2 separate regions of the Homo sapiens genome follow, and region 2 is linked to region 1. The links are contacts of gene promoters, found by promoter capture Hi-C in blood cells and fetal thymus (Javierre and others, 2016). All regions are on one chromosome and are shown on one strand. Each heading gives the region's core, a stretch centred on a gene start or on the middle of the fragment in contact. The rest is flanking DNA. Distances are from core to core; before and after follow the strand shown. Region 1 holds the start of ZMYM6 (zinc finger MYM-type containing 6). Region 2 overlaps ZMYM1 (zinc finger MYM-type containing 1).

What was found. The method cuts DNA at HindIII sites, captures the fragments that hold promoters and counts their contacts. A CHiCAGO score of 5 or more calls a contact.
Region 2: a contact is called between a fragment that was not itself captured here and the fragment with the promoter of ZMYM6 in region 1, in 3 of 17 cell types (M1 macrophages, endothelial precursors and megakaryocytes). The highest score is 6.4, in M1 macrophages.

What each region holds. Positions count from the first base shown.
Region 1 is chr1:35,029,290-35,035,973 of GRCh38, forward strand. ZMYM6 (zinc finger MYM-type containing 6) reads right to left here and starts at 2,656. Exons shown (of 16, transcript NM_007167.4): 1 at 2,526-2,656; 2 at 1,258-1,424. The coding sequence starts at 1,350. LOC124903990 (a long non-coding RNA gene) reads left to right here and starts at 3,431. Exons shown (of 2, transcript XR_007065739.1): 1 at 3,431-3,868. RefSeq lists enhancers at 1,958-2,484, 2,485-3,009, 2,666-2,845 and a silencer at 2,376-2,495. The HindIII fragment of the contact is 24,078 bases long and covers 1-6,684 here.
Region 2 is chr1:35,112,280-35,118,963 of GRCh38, forward strand. It overlaps ZMYM1 (zinc finger MYM-type containing 1), which reads left to right. Exons shown (of 10, transcript NM_024772.5): 10 at 698-3,580. The coding sequence ends at 2,980. Among named protein-coding and RNA genes, the nearest start is that of ZMYM1, 36 kb to the left of the region's middle. The HindIII fragment of the contact is 210 bases long and covers 2,655-2,864 here.

The DNA.
Region 1 (6,684 bases), core at 1,406-3,905:
CCTTATCATAGAGAAGCAGAATAGCACAAGTTCTGGAGTCTGACCACCTGGATTTGAATCCAGTCTTTGTCATTTACTACTAACTGTGATCTGTGGTAAACTATTTGGCTTTTTTGAGCTTTGGTTTCCTCATCTGTAAAATGGGGATAATAATATGGTGGTAAGAATGGTGCCTGACACACTCTTAAGCATATATAAATATTAAGTTAATAATGTCACATATGATTATGATATAATATATACTACATACTGATATACTAATGCCAGCTATTTTTATTGTTGTTGTTTTAATCATTATCATCATCACCATTTTCATACCTTTTCTGTTCCAGGCTCACTGTTCCTGCAGGTCTTAAAAAGAACCATGCATCTTTCCAACTCAGGGCTTTCCTATTCACAGTTCCCTCTGTCTGTAATACTCTTCTCCATACCCTTTGCCTAATCAATTCATTCTTCATAATTCAGCTTACACATCCTTCCCTTAGAGAGGCCTTCCCTAGCCATCCCCAGGCAGACCACAACCAAAACTAGGTCAGATTCCCCATTTTAGGCTTTTCTTCCAGAGTACTTGTCATAGTTTGTAATTATATATATTACTTGACCAATACTTTTGTAATCTCTGCCTCCTCTACTAACATATAAGCTCTACAAGGGAAGGGACTAAGCTGACTTTGCTCAATCCTGGATCCCCAGAGACTAGCACAGACCACAAATTCTTAACAGAATAAAGGAAAGTACTACCAGATACAAGAGAATTTTTTTTAAGTGACAAGTATGGAAAAATGGTAAATATATTACTTTCCTTCCACACACAAAAAAATCATGTAGTTATAGCTTTCATTCAAAGAGCAAAAAACCAGCCAGGAATGGTGGCTCATGCCTGTAATCCCAGAACTTTGGGAGGCCAAGGTGGGTGGATTGCTTGAGCTCAGGAGTTTGAGACCAGCCTGGGAAACATGGCCAAACCCCGTCTCTACCAAAAATACAAAAAAATAGTTGAGCATGTTGGTGTGTGCCCTGTGGTCCCAGCTACACAGGAGGCTGAGGTGGGAAGATCACTTGAGCCTGGGAGGTGGAGGCTGCAGTGAGCTAAGGAGATCGCACCACTGCACTACACCCTCAGCGACAGCGAGAGCCTGTCTCAGTTTGGGTTATTTTAAACTTACAAACCAGAAGCCGTTTAACTAAAATTTTTCAGTTGACCAGATGGAAAAGAAGGAATTTTTTTAAATTTTTAAATGAAGATGAAATGCTTACTTGAGCATTGTCTGGTTCTTCTTTAATTTTGTCCAGAAGCTCCTGCTGTGGTACCACTGCTTTGCCACATTCACCATCCAAAGGTTCTTTCATTCTAATTTTTTACCTCAAAGAGTGTCTCAGGCTCAAACGAATAGATTTCTTCTTGGTAATGGATAGTTGGACACCTAAAATACATACTCAGGCTTATTCTTTTTTCTTCAGGCTTATCTATATGAAAGAAAAACTTTGTGTTGAGTGCATGAGGCTTCACGGCTCGGCATTTGAAAAACAACTCTTCTGGGGCCACAACTAACTTTTTTCTTTCTTCCTGCTTTCTGTTCCTTCAGTAGCTACATAAGAAAACAGTTTTGGGGCAACAGCTCCCACTTCTCTAATATCTTTAAAGACACACAACACACTCTGGTTTTTTCCTATGTTGAAGGTTATTGAAGGGAATTAGACCAGCAGACCAAGACGTGGGAGGAAGTAATAAACTCTGAGAAGAACGGACTCAAGAAATAGTTTCTGACCCCATAAGAATCAGTACTTAGAGGCCCACGTCGGCTTTTATTTCTCAAAGAGGGGCACAACAACCTCCCGGCCCTGACCTATAACTCAACCTTCACTGGAAGCCTCCCTAAGGGCCCCATTTCTCGGCCTAACGCTAGATGTGAGCTCAAGATGCCATCCATCGCAGGCGAACAACAGGAACGCCCTTACTGAAAGTGAGTCACCTGCCTCTTTCAAGGTCTCCGTGTGAGGGGTGGGGGGCATCAAGCCCCTCAGAGCCCCGCTTCACAATCGCCTTCCTGTAGAAAAGAAACTCAATTGGCCATTCAGTAAATTCCCTTCCCCTAAAAGTCAAAGAACTAAACGGGACGAATTAAACCTAAAACAAAAAGCTCTTCAAAGTTGTCTTTATCCGAATAGTCCGGGATGGAAACGGACAACTGGTTGAAAAGCCTGTTCCAAAGAAGAAATGAGAACTTTTGCGCACTCGCCACAAAATATCTACGGGCGCTCATCCCTCCTCTGAGAACCGCACGCTTTCCGAAATTCTCCTTCCCACCAAGAATTCCCACTCCCATCATTGAGGACTAACGAGGCAATGTGGTCTCCGACTGAGAGCGGTGGACTAGCCAGTGAATGTCAACGCGTCCCTAAGGCGATATCCGCAGCCGCCCCAGCCGCGTAGCCCACCTGGCACCGCCCCCGCCGCAACGCCTCGTCACGTGGTGTGGCCTCCGCCCCGCCGTCCCGCCCACTACCACTGCGGCCGCACCCACCTTCTGTCGCCTCCCTGCTACCGGAGGAGCACTGGAATAGGAACCAAGTCCTCTGCATCTAGACAGGGATTATTTTCTCTTCTGGAATTCCGCCTGATCCATCCCAACGCAACGACCGGCCAACCACGCCTGCGCAGCCTTGGTCTCCGCCCTCTTTTCCCGTCAGGCTCCGGACCTGAGCTGAGTAGAACTTCCCAGCATTCCTCTTTCCTCAATTATGGTTCACTTCTTAAAGAGACCGAGGCTCAATAGTGAAAAGGTGGAGATGGCGTTAGAAGGCGCTGTAAGTGCTCTATAGCATTCTTTTTTTTTTTTTTTTTTTTTTTTTTTTTTTTTTTTTTTTTTGGAGACAGAGTATCACTGTGTTGCCCAGGCTGGGGTGCAGTGGCACAATCTCGGCTAACTGCAACCTCCGCCTCCTGGGTTGAAGCGATTCTCCTGCCTCAGCCTCCCGAGTAGCTGGGCTTACAGGCACGTGCCACCACACCTAGCTAATCTGTAGCATCCTTTAGTGCCCATTTCCTGAAAGGTGGCCTACTGAGAGAGCATGATATTAAATAATACTTGGCTTGCTGAGCACTTCACATGCACCATCCCACTTAATCCTCACCATTTAACCCTAAGAGGTATAATTTTTTAATCTCTTGAGATATAAATGAAAAAACTTGCTCAAAATTGAGATTTGGTTTTTTTAATTCAACATTGTTTCACAGATACGTGTATGATTTGTGACTGTTCATTCATTTTGACTGCTGTATAGTATTCTATTTTATGAATATGATACAATTTTAATCATCTACTACTGATGGACATTTGAGTTGTTTCCAATTTGTGGCTATTAGGAATAATGCTTCTGTGAACATTCTTGTCATTGGTGATGTTAAAAGACAAAATTACAACAAATTTAATTTAAATATCTCAATTAGCTTTATTTGTGATTCTAGAATCTGGCAGCACTTCATTCCATAAAATAGAACAAGTGTTCCAATGAGCTGAGCAGAAGAGGTAGGTTTTATAGACAGAGAAGGGCTGGAGAAAGCAGAAGTAAAGAACAAAAAACAGATTGGTTCATTTCAAAGTAACTTTCCAAAAAATAAATAAATAAGTTAATTTCCTTGTAAAGCAGAACCAAGAAACAAAACAATAGAGAAATAACTGATTGGTTAACATCAGGTAACTTCAGTTTATCTTTTTTTGGTAACGATTAAAGCAGAAGAAATTTCATTATTATGCTAATTGAAACTGGCACTCAGGGGAAATTAGACTCTTATTATCTCTTTTTCCTGACTTTTCAGAACTTCAAATAACAACGTAGTTTCCATTTGATGACATGGAACCTCAGTGTGAGTGACTCCATTTTGATTTTTAGTCTGGTTCATTGAGACCTACTGCAGGAGCTTAGCCCGAAACAATGGCCTACAAGTTTTATTTAACAGTGATACATATGCACACATTTCTGTTGGGTTCATACCTAAAAGTGAAATTGCTTGTTATGTATATGTAAAATTTAGGTAGATAATCTCAGGCAATTTTAGAAAATGGTGGTTTCAGTTTATACTCCCTTCAGCCATGTATGAGAGTTTCAGTTTCCCAACATCCTTGCCAATAATTACTGCTGCATATCTTTTTAATTATAACCATTCTGATGGGGGCATAGTGGTATCTCACTGTGGTTTTAATTTGCATTTCCCAGATTATTAATGAGGATGAGCCCATTTTCTTGTTCCTTGGGTATCTGGATATCCCCCATAAGTGCCTGTTCAAGTCTCTTGCTCATTTTTGTATTGGATTGACATTTTCTTATGGGCATATATTTTAGATATGAATCCTGCTATGGTTTGAATGTATGTGTCCCTTCAAAATTCATATATTGGAACTTAAACATTAAGGCGATGGTATAAGAAGTGGAGCCTTTGGGAGGGGTTAGGCTATGAGGACTCCATCCTCATGAATGGGATTCATGCCCTTACAAAAGAGGGCATTCATGCCCTTCACAAAGATTCATTCCTTTTGCCCTTTTAACCCCTCACTGTATGATAACAATGTTCCTCCCAGCAAGAGGACAACAACAAAGTTTCATCTTGGAATTAGAGAGTAATTCCAAGACAACAAATCTGCCAGTGCCTTGATCTTGGACTTGCCAACCTCCAGAACTGTGAGAAATAAATTTCTACTATTTATAAATTACACAGTCTGTGGCATTTTCTTTTGGCAATCAGGAATACACTAAGATAAGTCTTTTTTGAATATACACTAGCCCCCCTCATCCACGGTTTTGCTTTCTGAAGTCGTAGTTACCCACACTCAACCACGGTCTGAAAATATTAAATGGAAAATTCCAGTAACAAATAATTCATAAGTTTTAAACAACTTTCATTAAAGTCTATTGTTATAATTGTTCTATTGTTAGTTGTTAGTCTCTTTCTGTGCCTGATTTATAAATTAAACTTTATCATAGGTATGTATGTATAGGAAAAAACATAGCATATATAGGGTTTGATACTACTGGAGGTTTCAGGCATCTGTGGAACATCTTCGAACATATCCTCATGGATAAGGGAGGGACTACTGTATATATTGCAAATATCTTCTCCCACTCGGTAGCTTGCCTTTTCACTCTGTTATTGGTGTCTTTTGATGAACTTAAAAGACCTTTGTGGCCGGGTACAGTGGCTCATGCCTATAATAGCAGCACTTTGGGAGGCTGAGGCGGGCGGAACTCTTGAGGCCAGGGGTTTGAGACCAGCCTGGCCAACATGAGGAAACCCTGTCTCTACTAAAAATACAAAAATTAGCTGGGCATGGTGGGCACCTGTAATCCTAGCTACTAGGGAGGCTGAGGCAGGGGAATCACTTGAACCCCAGAGGCAGGGGTTGCAGTGAGCCAAGATCGCACCACTGCACTGCAGCCTGGGTGGCAGAGCAAGACTCTGCCTCAGGAAAAAAAAAAAAAATTAGCCGGGTATGGTGGTGTGCACTTATAGTCCCAGCTGCTCGGGAGGCTGAAGCAGGAGAATCACGTGAACCAGGAAGCGAAGGTTGCAATGAGCTGAGGTCATGCCACTGCACTCCAGCCTGGGTGACAGAGCAAGACTCCATCCAAAAAACAAACAAACAACAACAACAAAAAAACCCTTTGTGCTTAGTGCTTATTGTATTCTCTTAAGAAATATTTTCCTACCAAATGAAGAAAATTTCTAGAAGTGTTATTAGTCTTTCACATTTAGTTTTATAATCCATCTGTGGTTGGGTTATGTGTATAGTGTAAGGTAAGTCAGATTTCAACCTTTCCATGTGAATTTTGCATGGATTAAGCACTATTTTTTAAAAAGACTGTCCTTTTCCCCACTGTTCTGCATTGACACCTTTGTCATGTATCAGTTGTCTATATATGTGTGGGTTTATTTCAGGACTATGAAGGCTGTTCCTTTTGTTTCTCCTTGTGGAAATACCATACTGTCTTAATTTCTGTAATAGCTTTATAATAAATCTTAGTATATGATAGAAAAAGTCCTCCCTCCTATTATGTCCTTCAAGATTATCTTGGCTTTCCTTGGTCCTTTGCATCTTCATGTAAATTTTTGAATCAGCTTGTCAGTTGTGACAAAACTTTCCTTACAAATTTTAGAATCCATTGGGATTTTGTTTAGTATTATACTGAAGTGGTATGCCTGTTTTGGAGAATTGGTATTTGTTATTCATTATGTTGAATTGTGTCACCTAAAAAGATATGTTGAAGTCCTAACCCTTAGAATGGGACCTTATTTAGTCATATAGGATTGTTGCAGATGTAATTAGTTAAGATGAGGCCACACTGAAGGAAGGTGGGCGCTTCATCCATTATGACTGGTGTCCTTAAGAGAGGAGAAGATATGAAGACATACACATTGGAGGAGAACCCCATGCGATGATGGAAACAGAGATTGAAGTACTGCAGTTGCAAGCCAAGGAATGCTAAGGATTGTTGATAACACCAAAAGCTAAGAGAGGCAAGGAAAGATTCTCCCATATAGGTTTCAGAGAAAGCATGACCCTACCGATCTTTAATTTTAGACTTCTAGCCCCAAGAATGGTGATATAAATTCTGTTTGTTTTTTTTAAACCTAGTTTGTGGTACTTTATTAAAGCAGCCTTAGGAAACTAATAACAGCATTCTGTG
Region 2 (6,684 bases), core at 1,510-4,009, 83 kb after region 1:
CGATTCTCCTGCCTCAGCCTCCTGAGTAGCTGGGATTACCAGCGCCTGCTACCATGCCCAGTTAATTTTTGTATTTTTAGTAGAGAAGGGGTTTCACCATGTTGGCCAACCTGGTCTCGAACTGCTGGCCTCAGGTGATCCGCCCACCTTGGCCTCCCAAAGTGCTGGGATTACAGGCATGAGCCACCACACCTGGCCCAGATTTTTTATATATATATATAATATATACTATAATATATAAAAATATAAATATATAATATAAATATATTATAATATATTGTATATAATATAAATATATTATAATGTATATTTATTATATATTATATTTATATATTTAATATATATTTTATGTATTATGTATTCATATATGGGGTGTGTGTGTATGTTTGTAGATTGTTTAAACAGAAGTATTTTTTTCCTCTGGGTTCTTCTTTTAAAAAAATACTACACAATTTGAGTCATCTGAGCAATAAAAATTATTTTTATGACAATTACATACCAAAAGGTCCTTCAAACATTTAATGCTGAATCTAGATTGCAAATAAATAAGTTATACGTAATTGTTAACGTTTCCCCCTAGTGGAGCTCATACTGTAACTCAGCCATTTATTTTACTATGTTATTAGAGTAGATATATTTGATATTTTAATTAATTTTTGAAAACTGTTAAATGTTCTTTTCTCATTTTCTCCCAAAGCTTTCTAAGAGTTCACCTAGTGAACCCAGTAATGCTGTTGCTAGTAGTAGTACGGAACAGCCAAGCGTTTCACCATCTTCATCAGTATTCAGTCAGCATGCAATTGGTTCCAGTACAGAAGTACAAAAAGACAATATGAAATCTATGAAAATAAGTGATGAACTATGTCACCCAAAATGTACATCCAAAGTACAAAAAGTTAAAGGTAAATCACGAAGTATTAAAAAATCTTGTTGTGCAGATTTTGAGTGTTTGGAAAACAGTAAAAAAGATGTGGCATTCTGTTATTCATGCCAGTTGTTCTGCCAAAAATATTTTAGCTGTGGAAGAGAGTCATTTGCAACCCACGGAACTTCTAATTGGAAAAAAACCCTGGAAAAATTCAGAAAGCATGAAAAAAGTGAAATGCATTTGAAGTCATTGGAATTTTGGAGAGAATACCAATTTTGTGATGGAGCTGTCAGTGACGATTTATCTATTCATTCGAAACAGATTGAGGGAAATAAAAAGTACCTAAAGCTTATAATTGAAAATATTTTATTTCTTGGAAAGCAGTGTTTACCCTTAAGAGGAAACGACCAGTCAGTTTCATCTGTGAATAAAGGCAATTTTTTAGAATTGTTAGAAATGAGAGCAAAAGATAAAGGAGAAGAAACATTTCGACTTATGAATTCACAAGTTGACTTCTATAACAGTACACAAATTCAAAGTGATATTATCGAAATAATAAAGACTGAAATGTTGCAGGATATTGTGAATGAGATCAATGACTCCTCAGCATTTTCAATCATATGTGATGAGACAATCAATAGTGCCATGAAAGAACAGCTTTCAATTTGTGTAAGATACCCACAAAAATCATCAAAGGCTATCTTAATTAAGGAAAGATTCTTGGGTTTTGTTGATACTGAGGAGATGACTGGGACCCACTTACATAGGACTATCAAAACTTATCTGCAGCAAATTGGAGTTGATATGGATAAAATACATGGCCAGGCCTATGATAGCACCACTAATTTGAAGATAAAATTTAATAAAATAGCAGCAGAATTCAAGAAAGAAGAACCAAGAGCTTTATACATACATTGTTATGCACACTTTTTGGATTTATCAATAATTAGGTTTTGTAAAGAAGTAAAAGAACTCCGAAGTGCTCTAAAAACTCTCAGTTCTTTGTTCAACACTATTTGTATGTCTGGGGAAATGTTGGCAAATTTTCGAAACATTTATAGGCTAAGTCAAAACAAAACATGCAAGAAACATATATCACAATCATGTTGGACAGTCCATGATCGTACATTACTATCTGTGATTGACAGTCTTCCAGAGATTATTGAAACATTGGAAGTTATAGCAAGCCATTCTTCAAATACAAGTTTCGCCGATGAATTGAGTCATTTGCTGACATTGGTTTCCAAATTTGAATTTGTCTTTTGTTTGAAATTCCTGTATCGAGTGCTGAGTGTTACAGGAATTCTTTCCAAAGAGCTTCAAAATAAAACCATAGACATTTTTTCTTTGTCTTCAAAAATAGAAGCAATTTTGGAATGTTTATCATCTGAAAGAAATGACGTATACTTTAAAACAATCTGGGATGGAACAGAGGAAATATGTCAAAAAATAACCTGTAAAGGTTTTAAAGTTGAAAAACCTTCTCTTCAGAAAAGAAGAAAAATTCAGAAATCAGTAGATCTTGGCAATTCAGATAATATGTTTTTTCCTACTTCAACAGAAGAACAATATAAAATTAATATCTATTACCAAGGATTAGATACTATATTACAAAATTTAAAGTTATGTTTTTCGGAGTTTGATTATTGCAAAATAAAGCAAATTTCAGAACTGTTATTTAAATGGAATGAACCATTAAATGAAACAACAGCAAAACATGTTCAGGAATTTTATAAACTTGATGAGGACATTATCCCAGAACTTAGATTTTATCGACATTATGCAAAGCTTAACTTTGTCATAGATGATAGTTGCATAAACTTCGTCAGTCTCGGCTGTTTGTTTATTCAGCATGGTCTTCACAGTAATATTCCTTGTCTCTCAAAGCTATTATATATTGCTTTGTCTTGGCCAATTACTTCAGCAAGTACTGAGAACTCATTTTCTACCCTGCCTCGTCTTAAGACATATTTATGTAATACCATGGGACAAGAGAAGCTTACTGGCCCAGCCCTAATGGCTGTTGAGCAGGAGTTGGTAAATAAACTAATGGAGCCTGAAAGACTCAATGAAATTGTGGAAAAGTTTATCAGTCAGATGAAAGAAATATAATACATGCTCATTTGAACTTACCTAAAAGACTTGTATTTCCATTGGGATGTTTTCATTTCAAAATTGTTCAAAATTCAAAAGACACAGAACGATAAACAGTGAAGTCTCCTTCCCTCCTTTAGAACTCATTTTCTCTTCCCAAAAAGTGTTATCTTTTCCTTAAATATCCCTCTAGAGGTATTTTTCCTAAGTGGTATTGTACGGTGTATACTGTTCTTCAGCTTGTCTTCTCTGTGTAACATATTTTTGAGATTGTCCCATGTCGTTACATGAAGAGTTTCTTGATTCTTGGTCTATAATTGCAGATGTTATTGTATGAATGTACCATAATATATTTGAGCAGTCCCTGCTGACATTTTTTTCCTAACCTTTTGCTATTATAAATAATGATTCATTTTATAACCTTTTATATAGGTCACATTGCACATGAGTGAGTTTACTGTAAGCTGGAAATCTAAAGTTAGAATTACTAGGTTAAGATATGTGCATTTTTACTTTTGATAGATATTGGCAAGTTGCCATCTATAAGGATTGTGCCAGTTTACAGTCCCACCCACAATGCATGAGAGTGCCTATTAAATCTTTGTAAGTGTTATCAAATGTTTTGATCTTTCCTAATCTCTTACTTTAAAAATGGCGTTTTAATCTCAGTAGAATTTTGTATATTCACTTAAGAATAAGGTTGGGGACTGGGCGTGGTGGTTCACACCTATAATCTCAGCCCTTTGAGGGCCTACACAGGAAGGAAGATCGCTTGAGGCCACGAGTTCAAGATGAGGTTGGCAACATAGTAAGACCTCATCACTACAATTTTTTTTTTTTTAAATTAGTGAAGTGTGGTACTGCACACCCGAAGTCCCAGCTACTTGGGAGGCTGAGGCAGGAGGATTGCTTAAGCCCAGAAATTTGAGGCTGCAGTGAGCCATGATTGCACCACTATGCTCCAGAGTCTAGGCAACAGAGTGAGACCTTATCTCTTTAAAACAAACAAGAATGAAGTTAGGTATCTGTTTATTTGTTTGAGCCATTTGTATTTCCTTTTTTGTAGACTGTCCTGTTTAAACGTTAAAATCACTGCTGTGGTTTTGATTTATACATCTCAGCTGGATGGCACAATAAATTATTAAGCCATGTTATGAAAATATAACTATATTTAAGTAACCTGCAAAGAAAAGACTATTTCTTTATACTTCAAAAAAGTTTTGTTTTTGTTTTGAGATGGAGTTTTGCTCTTGTTGCCCAGACTGGAGTGCAATGGTATGATCTCGGCTCACTGCAACCTCCGCCTCCCAGGTTCAAGTGATTGTCCTGCCTCAGCCTCCCAAGTAGCTGGGATGACAGGCGCACGCCACCACGCCTGGCTAATTTTTGTATTTTTAGTAGAGATGGGGTTTCACCATGTTAGCCAGGCTGGTCTTGAACTCCTGACGTCAGGTAATACGCCCACCTGGGCCTCCCAAAGTGCTGGGATTATGGCATAAGCCACCACGCCCAGCCAGAAAAGTTTAAATAACAAAGAAAATGTGATATTCAAAGATTTGAAAGAATTAAGTGGTATATATATCTAGGCCTGGAATTTTTTTTTTTTTTTTTTTTTTTTTTGAGACGGAGTCTCGCTCTGTCGCCCAGGCGGGAGTGCTGTGGCGCGATCTCCGCTCACTGCAAGCTCCGCCTTCCGGGTTCACGCCATTCTCCTGCCTCAGCCTCCCGAGTAGCTGGGACTACAGGCGCCCGCCACTGTGCCCGGCTAATTTTTTGTATTTTTAGTAGAGACGGGGTTTCACCGTGGTCTCGATCTCCTGACCTCGTGATCCGCCCGCCTCGGCCTCCCAAAGTGCTGGGATTACAGGCGTGAGCCACCGCGCCCGGCCTTTTTTTTTTTTTTAAAGACTATTTCTCTGGCACTTTTCTCCAGCTGTTTCTCCCTTACCCTCTCATCAATTTTGATAACTTGTACTTTTTCTAGGAGAACATCTATTTCATTGAGGCTTTCTTTCAAATGCATTTGCCTAGAGTTGTAGAAAATATTCTCAGTATCTTCTATATACCTGTTTTACTTTCTTTCTTTCATTTTTTAAGACGGAGTCTCGCTCTGTTGCCCAGGCTGGAGTGTACGGTGGCGTGATATTGGCTCACTGCAACCTCCACCTCGCGGGTTCAAGTGATTCTCCTGCCTCAGCTTCCCAAGTATATGGGATTACAGGTGCCCACCACCACGCCTGGCTCATTTTTTTGTATTTTTAGTAGAGATGGGGTTTCACCATGTTGGCCAGGCTGGTCTCGAACTCCTGACCTCAGGTGATCCACCCACCTTGGCCTCCCAAAGTGCTGGGATTACAGGCATAAGCCACCATGCCCGGCCCTAATTTATTGATTTCCACCTTAAAAAAGAGAAAACAGGCCTGGCGCAGTGGCTCACACTTGTAATCACAGTACTTTGGGAGGCCGAGGCGGGCAGATCACTTGAGGTCGGGAGTTCAAGACCAGCCTGACTAACATGGAGAAACCCCGTCTCTACTAAAACTATAAAATTAGCCGGGCGTGGTGGCACATGCCTGTAATACCAGCTACTCGGGAGGCTGAGACGGGAGAATAGCTTGAACCCCAAAGGCTGTGGTTGCAGTGAGCTGAGATCGTGCAATTGCACTCTAGTCTGGGCAACAAGAGAGAAACTCCGTTTCAAAAAAGAGAGAAAATAGGCTGGGGACGGTAGCTCACGCCTATAATCCCAACACTTTGGGAGGCTAAGGCAGGCGGATCACAAGGTCAAGAATTCAAGACCAGCCTGGCCAACATGGTGAAACCCCATCTCTACTAAAAATACAAAAAAAATGAGCCAGGTGTGGTGGTGGGTGCCTGTAATTCCAGCTACTCAGGAGGCTAAGGCAGGAGAATCACTTGAACCCAGGAGGCAGAGGTTGCAGTGAGCCAAGATCGTGCCATTGCACTCCAGCCTGGGCGACAAGAGTGAAACTCCGTCTCAAAAAAAAAAAAAAAAAAGAAAATAGAAGTTAACTCTAGTATTGAATGTGTGTTGCATATATTTTCATTCTTTTAATGGAAGTGCTTAAGGCTATGAACTTTCCTCTAAAGTCAGCTTGGTCAACCATGTGTTTTTTCATTTTCATCATTTTCTAGCTGTTTTTAGTTGTAGTTTCTATCTTGTCATAAAATCAAGAAGTTGGGCCAGGCATGGTGGCTCACGCCTGTAATCCCAGCACTTTGGGAGGCCGAGGTGGGCGGATCACGAGGTCAGGAGATCGAGACCATGGTGAAACCCCGTCTCTACTAAAAAAAATTAGCCAGGCGCAGTGGTGGGTGCCTGTAGTCCCAGCTACTGGGGAGGCTGAGGCAGGAGAATGGCGTGAACCCGGGAGGCGGAGCTTGCAGTGAGCCGGGATCGCACCACAGCACTCCAGCCTGGGCCACAGAGCAAGACTCCATCTCAAAAAAAAAATCGAGGTTGGTGTTCTTGTTTTCATTTTCAAGTGTTTGTTTTCTATTCTTGTAGTCTATTATACAGCCAATAATGTAAAAAATAAACTTACATTAAGTATAACAGCTATCTTGGTTGAATGCCTATTAGCCTATTAAGTAACCTAGTACTTCCCTCAGTGTTTTACATATATTATTTCATTTAGTTCTCATAACAACCTATTATTTTACAGAAGAAACTAAAAAAACACATTATGGATTACACAACT